Regions from separate parts of the Homo sapiens genome. Here all the other regions are linked to region 6. Evidence: promoter capture Hi-C in 16 types of primary human blood cells and fetal thymus (Javierre and others, 2016). All regions are on one chromosome and are shown on one strand. The core of a region is centred on a gene start or on the middle of the fragment in contact, and the rest is flanking DNA. Distances in the headings are between cores, read along the strand shown.

What was found. The method cuts DNA at HindIII sites, captures the fragments that hold promoters and counts their contacts. A CHiCAGO score of 5 or more calls a contact.
Region 1: a contact is called between a fragment that was not itself captured here and the fragment with the promoter of SPMIP7 in region 6, in 11 of 17 cell types (activated CD4 T cells, non-activated CD4 T cells, total CD8 T cells and 8 more). The highest score is 13.3, in activated CD4 T cells.
Region 2: a fragment that was not itself captured here is called in contact with the fragment with the promoter of SPMIP7 in region 6 in 2 of 17 cell types (non-activated CD4 T cells and naive CD4 T cells); the score reaches 5.3 in non-activated CD4 T cells.
Region 3: a contact is called between a fragment that was not itself captured here and the fragment with the promoter of SPMIP7 in region 6, in 2 of 17 cell types (activated CD4 T cells and total CD8 T cells). The highest score is 5.9, in activated CD4 T cells.
Region 4: the fragment with the promoter of DDC here is called in contact with the fragment with the promoter of SPMIP7 in region 6 in 9 of 17 cell types (megakaryocytes, activated CD4 T cells, total CD8 T cells and 6 more); the score reaches 8.8 in megakaryocytes.
Region 5: a contact is called between the fragment with the promoter of DDC-AS1 here and the fragment with the promoter of SPMIP7 in region 6, in 17 of 17 cell types (total CD4 T cells, fetal thymus, activated CD4 T cells and 14 more). The highest score is 23.9, in total CD4 T cells.
Region 7: a contact is called between a fragment that was not itself captured here and the fragment with the promoter of SPMIP7 in region 6, in 9 of 17 cell types (activated CD4 T cells, total CD4 T cells, naive CD8 T cells and 6 more). The highest score is 9.4, in activated CD4 T cells.

What each region holds. Positions count from the first base shown.
Region 1 is chr7:50,445,602-50,448,301 of GRCh38, forward strand. It overlaps FIGNL1 (fidgetin like 1), which reads right to left. Exons shown (of 4, transcript NM_001287492.4): 3 at 2,580-2,688; 4 at 1-1,696. The coding sequence starts at 1,686. Among named protein-coding and RNA genes, the nearest start is that of FIGNL1, 3.4 kb to the right of the region's middle. RefSeq lists an enhancer at 750-1,949. The HindIII fragment of the contact is 2,949 bases long and covers 1-2,700 here.
Region 2 is chr7:50,597,960-50,600,659 of GRCh38, forward strand. The region is part of intron 17 of GRB10 (growth factor receptor bound protein 10); the gene reads right to left. Among named protein-coding and RNA genes, the nearest start is that of DDC, 34 kb to the left of the region's middle. The HindIII fragment of the contact is 1,116 bases long and covers 837-1,952 here.
Region 3 is chr7:50,499,354-50,502,053 of GRCh38, forward strand. All of the region lies in intron 7 of DDC (dopa decarboxylase), which reads right to left. Among named protein-coding and RNA genes, the nearest start is that of DDC-AS1, 31 kb to the right of the region's middle. RefSeq lists an enhancer at 2,528-2,700. The HindIII fragment of the contact is 355 bases long and covers 1,079-1,433 here.
Region 4 is chr7:50,564,155-50,566,854 of GRCh38, forward strand. It overlaps DDC (dopa decarboxylase), which reads right to left and starts at 1,251. Exons shown (of 15, transcript NM_001082971.2): 1 at 1,131-1,251. The HindIII fragment of the contact is 1,002 bases long and covers 416-1,417 here.
Region 5 is chr7:50,530,329-50,533,028 of GRCh38, forward strand. It overlaps DDC-AS1 (DDC antisense RNA 1), which reads left to right and starts at 1,431. Exons shown (of 5, transcript NR_033845.1): 1 at 1,431-1,554. The region is part of intron 4 of DDC (dopa decarboxylase); the gene reads right to left. RefSeq lists enhancers at 334-503, 352-521, 881-2,080. The HindIII fragment of the contact is 9,169 bases long and covers 1-2,700 here.
Region 6 is chr7:50,094,610-50,097,309 of GRCh38, forward strand. It overlaps SPMIP7 (sperm microtubule inner protein 7), which reads left to right and starts at 1,274. Exons shown (of 9, transcript NM_001161834.3): 1 at 1,274-2,029. The coding sequence starts at 1,477. The HindIII fragment of the contact is 3,144 bases long and covers 1-2,293 here.
Region 7 is chr7:50,480,532-50,483,231 of GRCh38, forward strand. The region is part of intron 9 of DDC (dopa decarboxylase); the gene reads right to left. Among named protein-coding and RNA genes, the nearest start is that of FIGNL1, 32 kb to the left of the region's middle. The HindIII fragment of the contact is 6,680 bases long and covers 1-2,700 here.

The DNA.
Region 1 (2,700 bases), core at 201-2,700, 350 kb after region 6:
CCTTTTCACCAATCTTCTCCGGGCAGCCTCATCAATTTCTTGTGGCCGATTTGTTGCTCCCACCACTAGGATACGATCTTCAGAAGATGTTGTTGCTCCATCTAATTGAACTAAAAATTCTGTTTTTATCCTTCTAGAAGATTCATGCTCACCATCTCCCCGTTGAGATAACAAGGAATCAATTTCGTCAATAAATATCACAGCTGGTTGCTGACACCTTGCAACAGCAAACAATGCACGGACCATTTTCTCCCCCTCACCTACCCATTTAGAAGTTAAGGATGAAGCAGAGATGCTAAAGAATGTTGCCCCAGACTGACTAGCAATGCACTTGCCAATTAGAGTTTTACCAGTCCCAGGAGGACCAAAGAGCAAAATTCCTTTAGGGGGTCCCCTTAAACCAGTAAAGATGTCTGGCCTCAACATGGGCCACACAACTATTTCCTTTATGGTGGCTTTAGCAAATTCTACTCCTGCAATATCTTCCCAATTTACTGGAGGTCCATGATCCATAATCTCATTCATAATAAGTTCAATCATCTTTGGCTCCAAGTTCTTCAGACGCTCATCAACTGGATGTGCTGGTTCTGTAGGTCCTGCCCCATAAGGCTTACATTGCATTCCTCCATTCTGCTCTCCCCCATCTTGCTTGGGTATAGGAGGAACAAACTTTCCAAGTATCCCTCGGGATCTACTAGCTCCTAGAGACTTTTTTACACCACCATATGAAGACCCTGATGCACGCTGAGGTTGGTGGTACTTTTTTTGCTGATCTACCCATAATTGTTCTTTTGCAGTTTTAAATGTAGGCAGGCTGCTATCCTCCTTTGGGCCATTATCTTCTGTTTTACTACAAGCCTTATTCAGTATTGGATTGGAAAGTGCATCAATGGTGCCAGAACCATAAAAAGACTTCCTCTGTGGATTTTCACAGGCAGCAGGAAAACAAGACTGGTTAGATAAGAACACATTAAGTCCTATGTTTTCTTTTGCAGAGCTGTGATTTTCCTTTTTGACATTTCCAAACAATGGTGTGACATGGAATTTTGCAGTAGCTGACTCACCTACAGGTGCTGAGAATGTAGGACAAGTCCTAGCAGTGTTAGTCACCATAGGTGGCTGGGCATTCTGAAGGAGTTTCAAACGATTGCTCTCCGGGAAGTCTTGGGTCCGGTCTCGATCATGAGCTGAGTTAGGTAATGAGTCACTCTCTTGAGAACTACCACAAACACTAAATTTAGGAAGATCAAAGACAGTGGCCTCCTTATGGATTACCACTGATGCAAGAGCAGGTTCCAACAGAGAGTCTTTGAATTTTTTGCCAGCTTGCATCATCTTCTGTACACTACTCATTTTGAAAACATTATTTATTGACAATCCAGACTGCCACTTGTCACTATCTGTTTGTTGAGATCCTGCCAAAGTTAAAATGTTTTCTGCATAATTATTCAACCCAGATTCAACATTGTCAGAATCAATAATTGCAGAATATTTCTCTGCATATTTTTTGAACAGTTTGGTAGCACAGACCTGGGAAATCTCAGAGTTTGCCCATGCATACTGAATGCGTAATATCTGTGCACGGTATGCATCTGCCTTCGGTCCGGTACATATGCCAGATGTAATTGCGAAGTAATTCTTCTGCCATTCACTCAGGTGCACAGATCTAGAGCTGGAGGTCTGCATTTTAGAGGTTCTATAACAAACAATAAAAATGAAAATCAGTATGAAGGAAAACAAAGAAAATACTTTAAATGTAATTTTGAAACTTCTGCTAATCTGAAGGAAGGGACACTGGACTTTTTATTTATAATGTAGATTTATAAGGACAGGTTATAAGAGAAATATCTAGTTAACTATAGATTTCAAGTATTCAAGACATATCAATATGAAGTCTTCAAAATTAAGGACTTGATTAAATAATAATTTATATGAGTTAAATTGTTCTAGTTACATAATTTTATCTGTAGGGAAAGCATTCATAAGGTTTAAAATTAATTTTAAATTTTAAAAACAATGGAACTATAGATACATAAAGCAAAACAAAATAAACAAGAGGTTTAAGTCTGATCTATAAAACTAGGTGAATGAGCTTAAGTGAGCTTTTTACTATCACTGATGGTTTATTTTTATTTTATTATTATTTTTTTTTGAGACAGTGTCTCGCTCTGTCACCCAGGCTGCTGGAGGGCAGTGGCGCTCTCAGCTCACTGCAACCTCCACCTCGCGGGTTCAAGTGCTTCTCCTGCCCCAGCTTCCCAAGTAGCTGGGATTACAGGCACCTGCCACCACCCCTGGATAATTTTTATATTTTTAGTAGAGATGGGGTTTCGCCATGTTAGTCAGGCTGGTCTTGAACTCCTGACCTCAGGTAATCCACCCGCCTCAGCCTCCCAAAGTGCTGGGATTACAGGCGTGAGCTACCGCGCCCAGCTGGTTCTTCAGTTTTCTTATCTGCAAAGTGAGAGGAACCATTGGAAGAATCAAATCAAGCAATGACTATGAAAATAATCTGAAAACTATCATTATCCTTATCACACAAATGTACAAACCGAGGCTGAGAGACTTAAAGAACTTACTTGAGATCACACAGCCAGTTATGAATGGTATCAGAAATCGAACACAAGCAGTTTCACTCCAGGTACTGTGCACTTCTGCATGTACACAATGCTCCTTGATGCTGCTATCCTAGGTCACAGA
Region 2 (2,700 bases), core at 145-2,644, 500 kb after region 6:
TTCAAGCGATTCTCCCCTCTAAGCCTCCCAAGTAGCTGGGACTACAGGTGCCCGCCACCACACCCAGCTAATTCTTACATTTTTAGTAGAGATGGGGTTTCATGGTATTAGCCAGGCTGGTCTCAAATTCCTGACCTCAGGTGACCCGCCCACCTCGGCCTCCCAAAGTGCTGGGATTACAGGCATGAGCTACTGCACCCAGCCAGAATAACTCTTCTCTTACAGGACCATTGAGAAGACCATGGCTGATGTATATACAGCTTTGTGCATGATCACACGCAATACAAGGTAGCTTGAAATAACAATCACTGCAATCAGCCAACTGCCACAATCCAGTGATTTCTAAGGGGATTGCAGTTATAGGAAAGATGCCCAGGGAGAAGCTAAGCATGTTAAGTGACTACTAACCAGGCTCAGAAGTTGTAAACACGGCCCAGGATGGACAGTGGCAAGAACCAGGTAAGTTCTTAAGAATCGATGCTAGGGATGGTGCACTCACCAGTCCATCATAAATGAACGAAGAGCCCCTTGTGACAGGACCCGACAGTGATCAGAGTACAATCTAGACCACGTTTACAAGCAAGACACCGTGCAAAGTGTTTCATGCATGTATTAACTCATTCATCTTCATGGTGATACTGTTATCTTCATTTCACAATGATAAGGGAAGTGACACACAGAGAAGCTAAGCAACTTCCCCAAGGTCACACAGCCAGTCATGGAGGAGTTCCTGGTTCAGCAGGAAAAGCAGACGAAAAGTGAAAGTATCCCTCTTACAAGGGTGCTATGTGAGTCCTGGGGATAACACCTCTCTTTCTGCGGTTGGGAGAAGGGAAAGCTTCAAAGAATTCAAATTTTGCCGAAGAGGTTTCCTTCCAACATGTGGAGGGGCATGAAGTGCAGACAGAGGGACTGCACAGGCAGATGACACAGGGATCGATGCCTGGCACAGCAGGAAGGCCAGTGGGGCTGGACCATGAGTGTGGGCATGGCAGGGGGGGCATCCACATGCCCTGGGGGGATAAGCATGGTGTTGGGGGTGGGGTGGGATTGTTTGGCAGAGAGGACTACAGACCTAGATTTCCCCTTAAAAAGATCCTTCTCCTGCAGTTCTGGGACGGGCATGGGTGGCAAGACAGGAAGGAAGCAGGCGGCAAATTCAGTGCAGGGCTGGTAAAGCACGAGTATGTGCGCGCACACGCTCAGCTGCATGGGTGGGGACGGGGATGGGAGGGGAGCTGCCTGGATCCTGGGATTTCAGGAATACTTGACGGGCTTATTTAAGGCTCTGATGTCTCTTTCTAACTGCATACACCGTTTGAGAATAAAGCTATGGAAAATGCTGTTGTTATACTGTCTGTCCAGAATCTTGTGCTGTTTTTCGAGGTGGTTTTCTTTTCTTTGTTGTTTAACTCTTTAAACTGGCTTGCCTTCATCATCTCTGCAGGGATCAGTAAAGATTAGAAATGGATTATTTACCTTGTTATACAAATACACCTCCTCCCTACACCCAAGAATTGAGAGGAAGATGAGCTGTTCCTGTGTTAACGCCTGAATCAATCCCATTATCTGCATTTCTGTGTGTGGTTAGCGCTCCAGCAGCCTAAGGCGGGAGCTGGAAATGACAGCCTTGGAGACGAGGAAGGCTCCAGGGAGGACGGAGAGGAACACCTGCTGAAGAATAAGACGGGCGGCACCAGCCGGGCTGATTTGGGGAACGGAAGGTAACAGAGGTGATGCTTCTATCGCTTTACAGGTCTGGAAAGACGGATGCCTCACCAACTGGGTTTCTGATCCGAGAAAAATTGAAAGACAAACATGGCTGGGGGAAGCAAAACGCTGACACACAATTCAGGTGGCCCAGCAGTGCTGACCTGCAATCCACCCCACCCCAAGGCAGCCCTTTCAATCCAAAGTGGACAGAGTGGGCCTTATCCCAGAATCACTCAGGAAGCTTCTTCAAACATATGACTGCCACACCCGCCCCCAAGGTTCAGAAACATCTTCGCCTCGGGATGATGGGCGTCCTCACTGCCCTGGCCTTGGGGAGGACACTTAGTGGCCACAGCACCAAATAAAGCCTCCTGTGGAAGTGCCAATTCTCCAGCAGAGTGACGCTACCCCGAAGTGAGCCTGCGCTGCCTCCCACACACGGCAAGGGTAACAGAGGTCCCCCTAGAACATTCTGGGCCCACTGTTGATACGGTTCAGGGGTATAAGCAGGTATACACTGTATTAGAAGCCCCAGAACACACAGATACCCCTAACTCAAAAACGTCACAGAAAGAGAAATTTCTGTGTTAGGCTTTTCTCTCCTCAGGCATGCCAGAAACTTTAGAGGAGAAACATACTGTTTTACAGTTAGAGGAGGAGTTGCTTCTAATGCTTTGAGAGACTGCTCTGTGATAAAGCTGACATCTTGAGTAAGGAGTTTTGGAGCAATTGTAAAGCCACATGGGAAACAAAATAAAATCAGACCCATACTCTACCCAGCAGTGAGGATAAATAAACCCAAGTGCATCTGGGATCGAAACAAAACCAAACAAAGACCAAAAATGAACCAACTAAGGACAAAAGAAAGAAAGGGAGAATGCAGAGAGCAGGAAGGAAGGAAAGAGGAGCAGAGGGAAGGAAGGAGAGAGGGGGGAAAAGAATCCAAGTACAAGACAACATGAATGCACCCCTTTATGATTTAGGAGT
Region 3 (2,700 bases), core at 6-2,505, 400 kb after region 6:
TTGCTGAACTAATGGCTGAATCCCCAAAAGGCCCCCTCATTCAAAGGGTCTAAAGCTGAGGGCAGTGTGTGTGCTGCTGGCCCCAGACACACCAGGGAAAATGGAAGCCACTGCACCACTTGGTTTTCTCTCCTGACCCTGGCGGCTAAGTGTAACTCCAAGGGACCATCGTGTGACAGCCTCATGTTACTCACCTGCATTTCTCTCCAGTGACACCACCCTTTCCACCCACCTGGAATTCCCTTCCTGGTTCCCTTTGCTAATCCATTCTCAAGTCCTCCCCCAAACATCATCCAAGGGGAGGTCTGCACACAGTCCACGCTGACCTCTACCTGCCCCACTCCATCCCCACCACCAGGTGAAGTTCTTTACTTTACACCATCTTAGACCATCCCCTGCTTTCTTCATGAACAGGGTTCTGTTTTCCAACCATGCATAGCAGCCTTGTGGGCAGGGGCTGCCTCATTCAGGAGCTGGGAGAGCCACAGATGTAGCATGCTCCCTCAATTTTGACAGATCTGGGCTCAACTCCTGCTTCCAGTTGCTCCCCAGCCAAGGGGCCCTATCTACTTCTCCAAGCCTCACTCTCCTCCCAGGAAGATGGAGATGAAATAGTACCCATAGGCCCAAGGGATGAGCAAGGGAATATTTACAATGTGCTTGCCAGGACCCCAGCACTGAGTAGGGGAGAAATAAATGTGGCTTCCATGGTTGCTGCCTCTCAGCCCTAGGCACCCAGGAGAGTAAGAGTTGAAGGGTGAAGGACCACAGAGAGGGCGCGAGCCACCCTCACCTCACAGGGTGGATACCAGTGTCAGGGTACCGTGGGGTAGGTGTCAGGGTCAGCATATGCATTTGTAGGGATCCATGGATTCACCGTTCACTCACCATCCATGGTGCTCATTGTGCAATGAGGCGTGAGACTCTCAGGGGCACTAATTAGTCACAGTTCCAATCAGGAGGGCTCCACTGTGCTGACCTCATTACCACTGGAAGGCCCCACCTCCAATACCATCACCTTAGGTTAGAATTTCAGCAAATGGGCTTTGCGGGGGACACAAACGTTCAGACTACAGCAAGCTTCAAATTTACACCTATCTTATGATGTGATCTGAGGTTTTTCTCAACCTTACCGCTGATCTGAGCTACAGGCATGGACATCCCATGATTACTGAGTGACTCCTCAGGGAGAAACTCTGCAAATCCTAAGGCCTTGTGCTCTTCCTGGCTCACTGCTGCATCCATCTGGGGTTATGCAAGCACCAGGTGAGACTGATTCTGGGGGAAGTGATGAGCCCCTAAGCCTCGGTTCAGGTCCACACTGCTCTGTGACCTTTGGCCTCCCATGCCCTGGGGTGGATATCCGTGTCCGCAGGACACACTTGACCTTAATCCAACTGAGGGCTTTCATCCTGATGATTAAACTGAGTCAAAGCTTTGAAACGCCTTATGTCTTTTATCAGCTTTGTGGAGGACTGTGTTCTCTCTAAGCTTGCAGTTGGCCTACAACTCCTGCAGAAGGGAACTTACAGACCCCTAAAGGAAGTGGACTCTGAAGGGCTTCTCTGGTTTCCATGGGGATGCATGGAGCTGTGGGCATGCCTCTGCATTCTGCATTCTGCATCTCATATGTGATCCACTAACAGCACACACTGCATAGCACGGCCCATCTAGGAACCAGGCAGACACAGAGACCCTCGGCCAGAGCTTGAGAAGTTGCATGCACCAGGGGCACACCTAGCCCTGAGGCAAGGCTGCCTCAGTGGGGAGGGATGGGACAGGCTCACACCCCTCCAGCTTCCTGCTGTCAGTGACTCTTTCCTTCTGAGACTTCCCAGGAACTTGCGGCAGGCCTGGCTGCCCCTCCAGCTGCACGTCCTCTCTCAGTTATGCTGGCACCTCAGGATGCAGCTTTGGCTGCCTGCCCTGTGCTATTCCCTTCCTCACACCTTGAGATGGCCTCCCCAACTCAGCCCATACCCTCGTCCTCAGTTTCCCCACTTCCCCATCGGCAACCTAACTGACTTCAACTATCCACTTTTTGTATTCCATCTTCTCAGTAAAACCTGCCAGACAACTGATCCATCCAAGCAGACCAATCTGAATACCCTCACTGGCAAATCATTTCAAATGCAATAAAAAGAAAATGTCTTTCCTAAGGCAGCAATTGGAAGAAAACCATCTTCTGATTTGTTTTCTTTGTCAAATGATGGTGGGTGAATAACTTATCTGAATTATGTTAGATTATTCTAATCATATATAGAATAAGGTCAGCTCAGGATCTCAGAACAGTCCCGCTTGGAGTTGGAGAATGCTAAATATCTGGTGATAGGAAAATGGTAGCAGGAGAGGGAAAGTAGGTAAAAGGGTGCTGACTTAATTGTTAAGGTACCACCAACAGTTAGTAATATAACACCATCAATAAAAATGGAAATGTTGGCCGGACACAGTGGGTTACGCCTGTAATTCCATCACACTGGGAGGCTGAGGCGGGCATATCATCTGAGGTCAGGAGTCTGAGACCAGCCTGGCCAATATGGTGAAACCCCATCTCTAATAAAAATACAAAAATTAGCCAGGCATGATGGCATGTGCCTGTGATCCCAGCTACTCAGAAAGCTGAGGCAGGAGAATCACTTGAACCCAGGAGGCAGATGTTGCAGTGAGCTGAGATTGTGCCACTCCAGCCTGGGCCACAGA
Region 4 (2,700 bases), core at 1-2,500, 470 kb after region 6:
TCCCTGGTTTCAAAAATGTCACATATCCACTTTGCCAGGACTTCCAGGGTAGAGTTCTATAGGGTCATCTTCATCCTACACCGCATCCAGATAAGCACAGGGAGCAAGGCTGAATGCTGGAGGGACTTACCCCAGCCATGGGAGCAGCGCTTGTCGCCCTGGACCTACACACTGGATTGCTTGGCTGCCCGACAGCACCAAGTGCAAACGGGCTACATTCACATTTCGTCTCTGCCAGCTGCAAGATCTTATGCCATCCTCCTCCCCTCCTCTGGCTGTTTGCTCACTTGTGAAATGGGGATGTGACTGGAGGTGAAGAAGGCAAACCTTCTAGACAGAGCCCAATGTAAACTGACCACTCAGAAGTAATGGTTTTAACTCACGCATGATGGAGAGCAATGATTTCCATCGATTAAGCTTTGATTCTTATATACTTCCGACAACAGACTTAAAACCAGGAGAACTTCGACTCCTTGAAGTCGATAACCGAACAATTCTCCCAATAGAAATTCCTATCCGCATATGTTTTCAGATGGGAATTGTACTCAGCATGGCAAGTTGGTGGGAAAGATCTTCTAATTCTCCTCAAATCACACTGCATAGGTAGACACCAAATTGACCTCTAAGTAAACTATAACATACACCAAAAGGAGAGAGCCCTGACGGAGCCTCAGATGTTATAAAGGGAAGGGCAGAGTTCACATTTACTAATCACCTCCATAAAATCATGGGATTTAATCCTCACAAGGTAGATACTAAGAAAATCCTCATTTACAGAAGAAACAGAGGCTGGGGGAATAAAATACCCAACACCATCCCTGGTGGTGCATGGAAAAAATAGAATCACATCTGGCCCGCATTTGCTACTGAGCCAGTCATGAAATCATTCCCAGCACCTATCAAACATGTGTCACTGGAGTGACTGTGTGTGCATGGAGAGCCACCAAGTGCACAGCCCCCACTGAACAAAAACCCCTGCCAGCCTGCAGCAGAAGAGAAAGCACCACACAAGCTCCCTCAAGTGAGTTAACCTTTAAGCAAATGTTCAGTAACATGGGGCCAGAGAGTCAAGGTACATGTTGCTGTTTTCCACTACTACAATCTGAGTAGGTATAAAATCAGAGACTTACATGCTGGAAATTCGAATTCCTTACAGGGCTACTCTCCTTGATGGGATTCTCCAACTTTGGGGACTGAAGAGCATGTGGAGAAGCTGCTGAGGCACTCGGCACTGAGACAGTCACTCTTCTTGAAACTCCAAGCCACACGTTTCCCTCTTCTTGCATTTCCAGCCACATGTGCCAGTTAAACATTAATTCCTGATGGTGACAAAGGTCAAGGAAATCTTGAGAAATAGCTCGCCTCTGGGAATCCTGAGAGCACATTCTGAAGAGACTGTTTCATTCCAAATCCTGGAAGCTTGGATCTTTCTTATGTAATTCTACATACATCCCATCTTTTACTAAGCAGCCCTGATTTCAAGTTTGGAGCCCATTAAGTCATCTGATATGTTCCAGCCCTGCACCAGGTGATGCCTGCATTGCACACAGCCTCCTGCCCCTGAAGGCAGCCCCAAAGTAAGCCTGCACTTCCCGGTGCAGCACTCAGCAATATGGGTAAGATTTCCAGGTTCAGATATCAGCAGAACCCAGGAACTCACCTTCCTTCCCCAAACCCATCAAAATCATAGTTGAGATGCATGAAACAATACTCTGAGTGGAATTTGGACAAATTTATAAAAAAACCCCAAAGTCGATAGAATTTTATGAGAGCACAAAGCAGGGCTGAGAAAGCCACATTGAGAAGTTGAGCAGGCACAGCCTGCAGGGATCTTAGGAGCTGGTCTTTCTGGCAGACCCCCAGCAGCTCCAAGCGTGGGGCTCAGTGGGTGTGAAGAGCAGAGTGAGAGTGAGGCTGGCTGCGGGCAGCTCATTAAAGGACTGGAAACAAGGCAGAGAGGGCTGTCACTAGAGCCATTTGTCACAGGCTAGATGCAGGGAAGAGCTCTCCTTGCTCTATCCTAGGGGACTGGAGCAGGCTGGGGCGGGGCACCTAGGGTTCCTATTGTTAGGACTGGAACTGGAGAGAGAAGCAGAGTGACATTGAGGAGTCTCAAAACCTCCACAGGAGCCATTGGAGGAAAGAGGGAAAAGAGAAAGAATGGCAAGTGAGCCCTCCAATGACGCACACCCAAATGCTCCCGCCTGGGGTCTCACAGGAGCTGAGAACCGAAGAAGTGATTGTCCTTGGTAAGGGGAAGAGTGAGGGAAGGGCTCCAAAGAGGGAACAGCCTCTGCAAAGTTACTGAGGATCAAGCTCGGCATCTCCCAGGCCCTGACAGAAGGCCAACTCCTAAGGACCATTCAAAGTAGGGGAGGGGGAGTCTTGCAAGCCACGTTACGTAATTTGTATCCCCCCAACTGTAATAGAAGGCATTGAAGTGTTTCTAGAAAGCAGTAACCTTAGCTTACTTATGGTTTAAGATCACTCTGGCTCTGGGGTAGAAAATGGATCAGAGGGAGATAAGGGTGAAAGGGTTAGACCCTTTAAGTTGGACCACCAATTCCCACCACATTCCTTGGATTTCTGCACTTTCCTGCAAACCAGGAGTGAATTCAAGTGAATCCATTCTAGGAGATGGGCTGGGGGAGGGAGGGGGGGCTTGAGATGAAGAAGCGTGCTAATATTCCCCATAAGTGC
Region 5 (2,700 bases), core at 181-2,680, 440 kb after region 6:
AGGACACAGGGAGAAGGTGGCCATCTGCAAGCCCAGGAGAGAGGCCCCAGGAGAACCAACCCTGTGGACACTTTGATTTTGGACTTGCAGCCTTCGGGACTGTGAGAAAAGAAATTCTTCTTCGATCCACCCAGTCAGTGGTATTTTGTTAGGGAACCCCTGGCAAACTAATGGATTCAGGGCCTGCTATGTTATCCCATTTAAGTTGTAAAAATAATCCCATTTTTGTGTTTTATCATCTTCAGGTGGGGAAACAGATGTGCAGAGAGGTTCACTAACTTGCCCCAAATCAGCAGCTAGGTAGGGCACGGTTAGGAGTGAGCCCACGCCTGCGCTTTTTAGGGTGCCATGGGCCTAGAAAGGTAGGGGCAGCGAGCACCTTCCCTCTTAAGTAAGTCGTAGAAGAAACCCATCTACCGACCAGTATGAAAGGACATTAGAAAGGGCAAATAAAAGAAGGTAGGTTCTTGTTGACTCTGAAAAAGTTTATAACATGATAGGTTTTTACAGAGAAATATATAATAAAATAATTAAGTAGAAATGCTAACCTCTCTTCTTAACATTTGATGCTCTCTTCATTGACCCTGATTTCTCATTTTGACTTTGCCTTGACACTACTTTTACTTATTCTTTTGAGCCAACCCACATCCTTTGGTGGGACAGTAATATTGAAAGATAAATACATTTATTCATGTTTCTGTAGCACTAATGGATGGGTTCAAATATACAGATATATGCGTCTCTTAATTCAGCATCTAAAATGGGTACTTTATTTCCTTCAGGCTATATTTTCATGAGCAATGATTTTAGACATTGTTTTAGGCCAGGTTTACAAACCTTGGCCAGAGGAGAGAGAAGGGGAGAAACCAATTTTGGCTGGCAAAGCTAAATCAGCCATCCCAGGAAACCCAGGCTCCCTGAGAGCAGGCATTGTACCTTACTTACACTTCTCCTATGTACCCCATCATTCCTGTCCCTGATTTCCTCCTGTCCCCCTATCTGCCCCCACACACATTTTGTTTGTCATGTCCCACCCATTCTCATTGGAAATGTAACATGAAAAGCCTGGTGGAAGGCACAATTCCCTGTTCTGATGCTTGACAAGCAGGCGTGACTGCAGCTTCCCCGGCTAAATTCTACCCTCTGCTTGAAGCGTTGGAACGCAGGTGTTCATTCTCTGAACATTCTAATGAAATGAGTCACCATGAATCACCTGAATCACCATGACAACTCATTATGGCTTTTCTCTGGGGGGGGATGGGGGAGCTTAGTTCATGTCCTAAGAGAAAATTCACCTTCTTAAGTCAACAAAATGATGTTTTAAAAGCCTGAAGGAGCAAATCGTCAGTAGCACATCTAGAACCACACCACCCCGATGCCACCAGGGTGGCCTGGTGGCCTCAAGCATGATGTCAGGTGGAGCTCTCTGCACTTTGCTGGCAGCAGATCTTCGCGGAGAGAAGCACGGGGAGGGTGACATGTGGTACAGAGCAGGAACGATGGCTCTGTGCGATAGCAGCAGACAAAGGTTGCCATGGCAAGCCTGCTCAGGAGGTAGGAGGGGATGCTGGTAAGGTCTGACGCTTCTGGCTGCTGATGCCGTGAGCAGAAATGTCCTTTCATCTTCAGTTTTTTTCGAAGCAAAAAATTGTCTTTTCTTCCACAAGAACTTTAAAACCCAATTAAGAGACCATTTTCCCAGACCACATTTGTCCAGCCTCACAACAACAGTTTGCCATTTGACTCAGACACGCATCACTGCGCTGACGCCCACAGCTGTGATTACAGCTCTGAGGGGATCAATAATGCAGGCTGGCTCACAGGCTGTCACCAGGCTCCTGTGCTCTTTGGGGCCTCACCAATTACAGACAATCAGCCTTGTCTGCTGAGAAGGGTGAGCTTCCGGTGGCAAACACAGATCCCATTTCTTCCTTTCATCCAGAAAAAAACTGAGTGGATTGGGCTCACAGGAAGATTGTGTTAAAGCGGGGGCTGAGAGATGCCAGGAATATTCCTACCCAAATGCTAAAGACTTGTATGGTCTCTCAAAAATGAGGTTGTCTTTAATGAAACGAAAATGCAGCCCATAGTAGCATGCACATCTCTGGACACCAACCCAAGCCTATGGTCAGGGATGAGCTGGTGTAACAGTCATAACTCTGGTTGTCTTTCCTACTAGCCTTGGCTTTAATTCACTTTTGCTGCTATGCATGTTCTACTAACTTTCTGGGACTCAATATCCTCATCCATGAAAAAGATTGTCCATAATCCAATCAATCTTCATAAATACTTTGAGGATGAAGACAATAACACAAAGCACAAGACATAGGCTAAAACATAGCCAAGCTCATAATTGCTATTCAATGAAAAGTAGCTCTTATTATAATAGACACAGCTTATATTATGAGGGATTGATAAGATTTTTTTGAGGAGTATATAATTAGAGGAATCATCTGCTGAAAAAATTGAATATGAAATTGTTTTTGTTATAAGATGCAATGACCTAGAAATGCTTCAATTTTTGTTTTGTTCCATTTGGATTTAGTGGGGAGCATGAATGTTAAACATGAATACAGCCAGGAGAGTCCTAGGAGGAAGGTGATCATCTTGGAAGATTGTTGCACTTCATCCTAAAGGGTGTCCTCCAAAATTTTTTTTATAAGAATGGAAAATTTGATGCAACACAAATATCTTAGGTAT
Region 6 (2,700 bases), core at 24-2,523:
TTTGATATGAAGAAATGAGTGATCATGGGTGGACTAAAAACTGTCACTTGATATGCTATGATCTGGATGAAGGATTTAAAACTGACAGCCTAACCACCTAATTTAATCTCACTTGTTTAATAGTATATCTCAAAATTGTAAAGACTTTCAATGGGGCATAGGCATTCTGATTGTACCAAACATATCACCCTTGACAGTTGGCCTGATTAACGATTATGTGCCTGACTCTTCAAAGCTAGAATCTTGCCTGTTTTAACATTTTTGCTGCAGTAAGGATGATGTGAACTTTTACCCCAAATTCTAATATTTGCATTTCCTCTTATAGTAGTTCATGCAAGATGAAATTATCCAGGTGAAAGAGCTTTTAAGTGAACCAATACATTAGTGATTTAAATGATATTTTGTGTGTAGACAGTTAACTGATACCCATTGTGGTTTCCTAAAATGAACTTAAAACTCTTACTGTTCTTACTCTGGACACCATGGCAAATTTAAGGGAAGTAAAGATAATTTAGGGCATGTAAAGATGTACCTGTACTTTCATTATAATTTTCTGTTTTTCTTAAAAATTAGATATACTAGGGCTGGGCACAGTGGCTCACACCTGTAATCCCAGCACTTTGGGAGGCCGAGGCGGGCAGATCACAAGGTCAGGAGATCGAGACCATCCTGGCTAACACAGTGAAACCCCATCTCTACTAAAAATACAAAAAATTAGCCGGGCATGGTGGCGGGCGCCTGCAGTCCCAGCTGCTTGGGAGGCTGAGGCAGGAGAATGGCGTGAACCTGGGAGGCGGAGCTTGCAGTGAGCCAAGATCACACCACTGCACTCCAGCCTAGGCGACAGAGTGAGACTCCACCAAAAAAAAAAAATTAGATGTACCAATTTAACTTTAGTAATGTTTATATTTTGTAGTGCATTTAGATTTACATTTAATTAGATAGCAAGTGTTATATATATAAATACTTAATTGTAGTCACATATATACTTTTGAGAAATGTATTGTCACTGAATTAACTGCTTTATTTACACTCCTTAAATATATTTTATACCCATAAAATACCAACTTATGGAAAAATTTTAAAATAAGTAAATGAACACAGCTTTCCTGAGCACTGGGGAGAAAAGTATCATGGAAATATTAGTACCAAGGCTATTTTTGTTTTTCTTAAGAATTGTGATGTACATAATAAATGGTTCAATGTGTTAAGAATTCTAGCCGTTGCCAGGCAACAAGGGCTCTGCTTTATTCTCCTTATGTCATGTTCCTTCATTGCCCTATTCTTCCTTTGGTGGAGGAAAATATTTGCCTTAAAAAGAAAAACAAAATTATCTGCCAACATTTAGAAAGCTGTGTCAATTTTATACTAGTTTAACACAGATCTTTAGTTATTGGCAATAGAGTTTATATAGTTAAATATAAAGGAATTATCAGAAATACTTTATAGTTATCAAAAATTCTAAAGAAAAAGGCCATGGATGTAGAAATTCAGGACACACCTGGAAAGATAAGTATCTCTAAAAGGTCCATCCTTTCAGGAACTGTTGAGAATATAGATTACCCACACTATTGTGATCTCTTAAGAAAAATGAACATGCCTTTTGTGAAAGGTCTTGAGAACAGACATAACTATGGCAGGTTTGAAAAGAAATGCAACCCTGCTTTTCTTAAATTTCACCCTTATCCCCCTTCAGTTTTGCCAGACTATCATTTACATGATCCTTATCCCCCACCATATGGGCCACATTATCCATTATTTCCACTTCGGGATGATGTGACCTTAGGTGATTCCTGTTCAGGGTTTATGAGTCCTGGTGGTGATGCTGATTTAAATCCTGGCATTGGCAGAACCATACCAACCCTAGTGGATTTTAGTGATGTGAAACCTCAACATCGAGTTCCCAGACCAGACACAGGATTTCAAACAACAATAAAAAGGCAAAAAATTCTATCAGAAGAACTGCAACAGAACAGGAGATGGAATTCCAGGGAAGTACCAGACATTTCTATCAGAGCAAGACTTGGAGGTAAATGAAGTGACATGAACTTTCTATTTTTTAAATGCTCAAGGGAAGAGAGTATGGACATAAGATTCAATATTTAGGCAGTTAAATTAACAAAATTACAATGATCTGAAAAAGGTTTTATTTTTAAATTACAGATTATAAGAAACAAAGGAATGATAAACCTTATAAACTTATTTGTAAAAGAAAATTTATTCTTTAAGAAAAGAACATTCATTAGTGATTAACACAAAGTATATAACATTATTTATTCTAGATATATGGATAAGCTTGTTTTACCACAGGGGAATTTATGTATCACTTTGATAATTGTATAGAAATCCTCCTTATCTGTCTCTCTCCTTTGAAAGAATGAATTCACTGATATTATGAAAGAGTTAGTTTTAAGGATTGAAATAAAATGGGAAAAATTTAAGTACTTGAACGTACATTTTTTGGCTCCAATAAGAACAGAAGCTGAAATGAAGCAAACTCTGCATAAATAGCTCCACAGCCATGGAGGCAGGTTTGATGACCTCTTACTGACATCTGCACCATGTGGTTTCTCTGTAAGAACTCCTGTAAATGGAGTTCCTCTAAATGATGAGAAACACCTCCAAAGGAAAGCCACAGGTACTATTTTCTGTATAAAAGCTGTCTGGCAGGCAGGAATGTAAAAAGATCAACATTTTTAG
Region 7 (2,700 bases), core at 178-2,677, 390 kb after region 6:
TGGAGACCCAACACTGTAACTGGCATTTGAAGTGGGGGCCGGCTGATGGGACTGAGCCCTTAACCCTGTGGAGTCTGACGCTACCTCTAGGTAGTTACAGTCAGAATAGGAGTGAGTTTAGGACACCCAGCTGGTGTCTGCAGAGTTGGAGAATTGGTGTCAAGAGGGAAAACCACAGAGGTTAGCATTTGCTCCTCTCTCTCTTTCCAGGGACAGCACAGTGACTGGCCCTGCTGGCATCAGTAAGTGTGTGTGGGGTGAAAATCCCAAGGGCTAATGAGTGAGAAGGCCAGGATGCCCTGGGCTGCAGACAGGGGTCCTCTTTCACCTGTCTGCACACAGAGCACTCACACTGGTAGTCATTCTGCAGAACTCGGACGCAAACTCTCACTGGGCTGGCCTTTGAAGGGCCTGTGCTTTACGGTAATTGCCATTGCTCTGCTTCATTGGCAGTGTGGTGACACCATCACAAAGCAATTTTGTAGCAAATAAAGTATCCTAAGGGCAAACTAGAGAAGAAATGTTAATCTGACAGTAGCTTAGGCTTGAAAACAAATAAAACGTGAGAGTCCCTGAAAGACAGAACCCAGTGAGCACAAAATAGGATGCTGAGATGTGGCTTACCAAGGAGGTGAGAGAGAGGCTGGATTTATCTATAAATGGTCATTGAGCCTTTATTTTTGTTTTAAGGTTAAAGACAGACAAAGTCAGTAGGAATAATAAGCTGTCTAGTGTATATTCTTTCTTTGACTTGTGGAAGAAAATTGCACCTAATTTTTTGTGTGTATAGGAATTTTCTTGCATCATAGGCATTTTATGGGGAGCCACTGGTTGTGGGGGGAGGTCCTTTGGGTCTCTCTGCATTAGAGAAAGCTCTGTGCCTAGACTTAAAAAGAGGGGACCAAGAGGGATGTGAATATTTATGGCTATCAGTAGAACTCTGCCCTTTGTCCACAAAGATCACACTTTCCCTTCTCATTCTCAGCAGGGGCCTTCCAGCTGTTTTTTAATTTAAAAAATTTTGCACTAATTAAAGCCATACAAAAGATGTAAAGAATAAATCACCACCCCCTGCTTATGAAATAAAACTTAAATTATAAGTATTAATAAAAGTTAAATATTCCTGTCCCTCACCTACTTCCTCTCCCTGTCCCACACAAGAGGCCACAAGGCTGAATTTGTGTTCCTACTCTTACATAGTTCTACAAAATTTTCTCTCCAAATCCCTAAGCAATCTATATTATTTTGCACACTGCTAAACATACTGTACCATAAACTTAAGATGTATTATCTTAAATTTTATAATTCCATGCATGTTTCTATAATTTGCTTTCTTACCCCAAAATAGACCTATGAGTTTCACATTCATTCATGCGCAGGGCTCTTGCTCACTCATTTGTATGACCTCCTGGGATTTTAGTGCATGCACATATCCCAATCCATTCATTCTATCATTTCCCATTTATTGATAGACAAACTACACTGATGTGGACATGGGACCATCCCTGTGCATACTCCTGGAGCCCCTAGTGGCAGCGCCCGTCGGCCATGCATCTGCCAATGGAATAGCACAAGGTGAGCTATGTTAAGGTTGGAGGAAAGCATCTATCTACGGCCGTATTCAATAGCTCCAAATCAGTCTCCACAACAGTTCTGCAGTCTGCGAGCTCCTCTTCCATATCCTGGTCAACGTTTAGTATGAAGAGACTATTGTAAACAACCTATAGTGTTTTACTGGGATTTCAATTTACATTTCTGATTACTAAGGAGGGTGAGTAACTTTGTATTTATTAAGCATATCTGTTTCCTCCTTGATAAAGAATTTTTTGTTCATTTTTCTGTTAGATTGCTTATCTTGTCATATTGGATTGCAACAATTCTGTAAACATTAGAAGCCCTAATTGGAATATGTGGAGTCTGTTTCTGGCTCTCTCTTCTAATGTGCTCTACCCATCTGTGCCCGCGCTGGTGCTACATGAGTTCAGTCGTGGTTACTTTACACACACACGTTGATATTTAAGGAGGCAACTTCCTCACTATATTTTTTTTCACAATTATCTTGGCTATTCTTGGCCCATATAAATATTATGCCAGGATATTTATTAGAATTGTGCTGAGGTCTAATATCGAGTCTTCTTTATGAACATATCATCCTACTTAGGACTTCTTTAATGACTTCCAAAAAATTATAGAATTTTCTCCATATAAATCTGAACAGGTTTGGATATGTTTGTTCATAGTAAACATATCTTTTCTTGCTATTATAAAGAGTGTTACCTTTGTAAAAATTACACATACTGTTTAATGTAGATGTAAAAAAATGCAACCTTAAAAATGTTAGTGTATCTAGACATCTTGCTGGGTTCTTTTATTAATAATACTTTGAGGATTCTCTTTTTATTGAGGTTACATCATCTGACAATGAGAGTTTTATGTCTTCCATACTGATCCTTACATGTTTACTTCTTTATCTTTTTTTTTTTAAATTATTATGGAGGTTAGGAAAGTCCAGTGTTGAATAGAAGTGCAGATTATGGGAATCCTCATTTTTTTCTGATTTTAAAGGGAGTGCTTCTAATATTTCACCATTAAGTAAAGGTTCACTATGTTTTTTGGTAGTTACCTTTTATCAGATTAAGAAGTTCTCTGCTGTTCCGATTTTACTAAGACATTTTGTCCTGAAATGTTGTTGACTTTTAT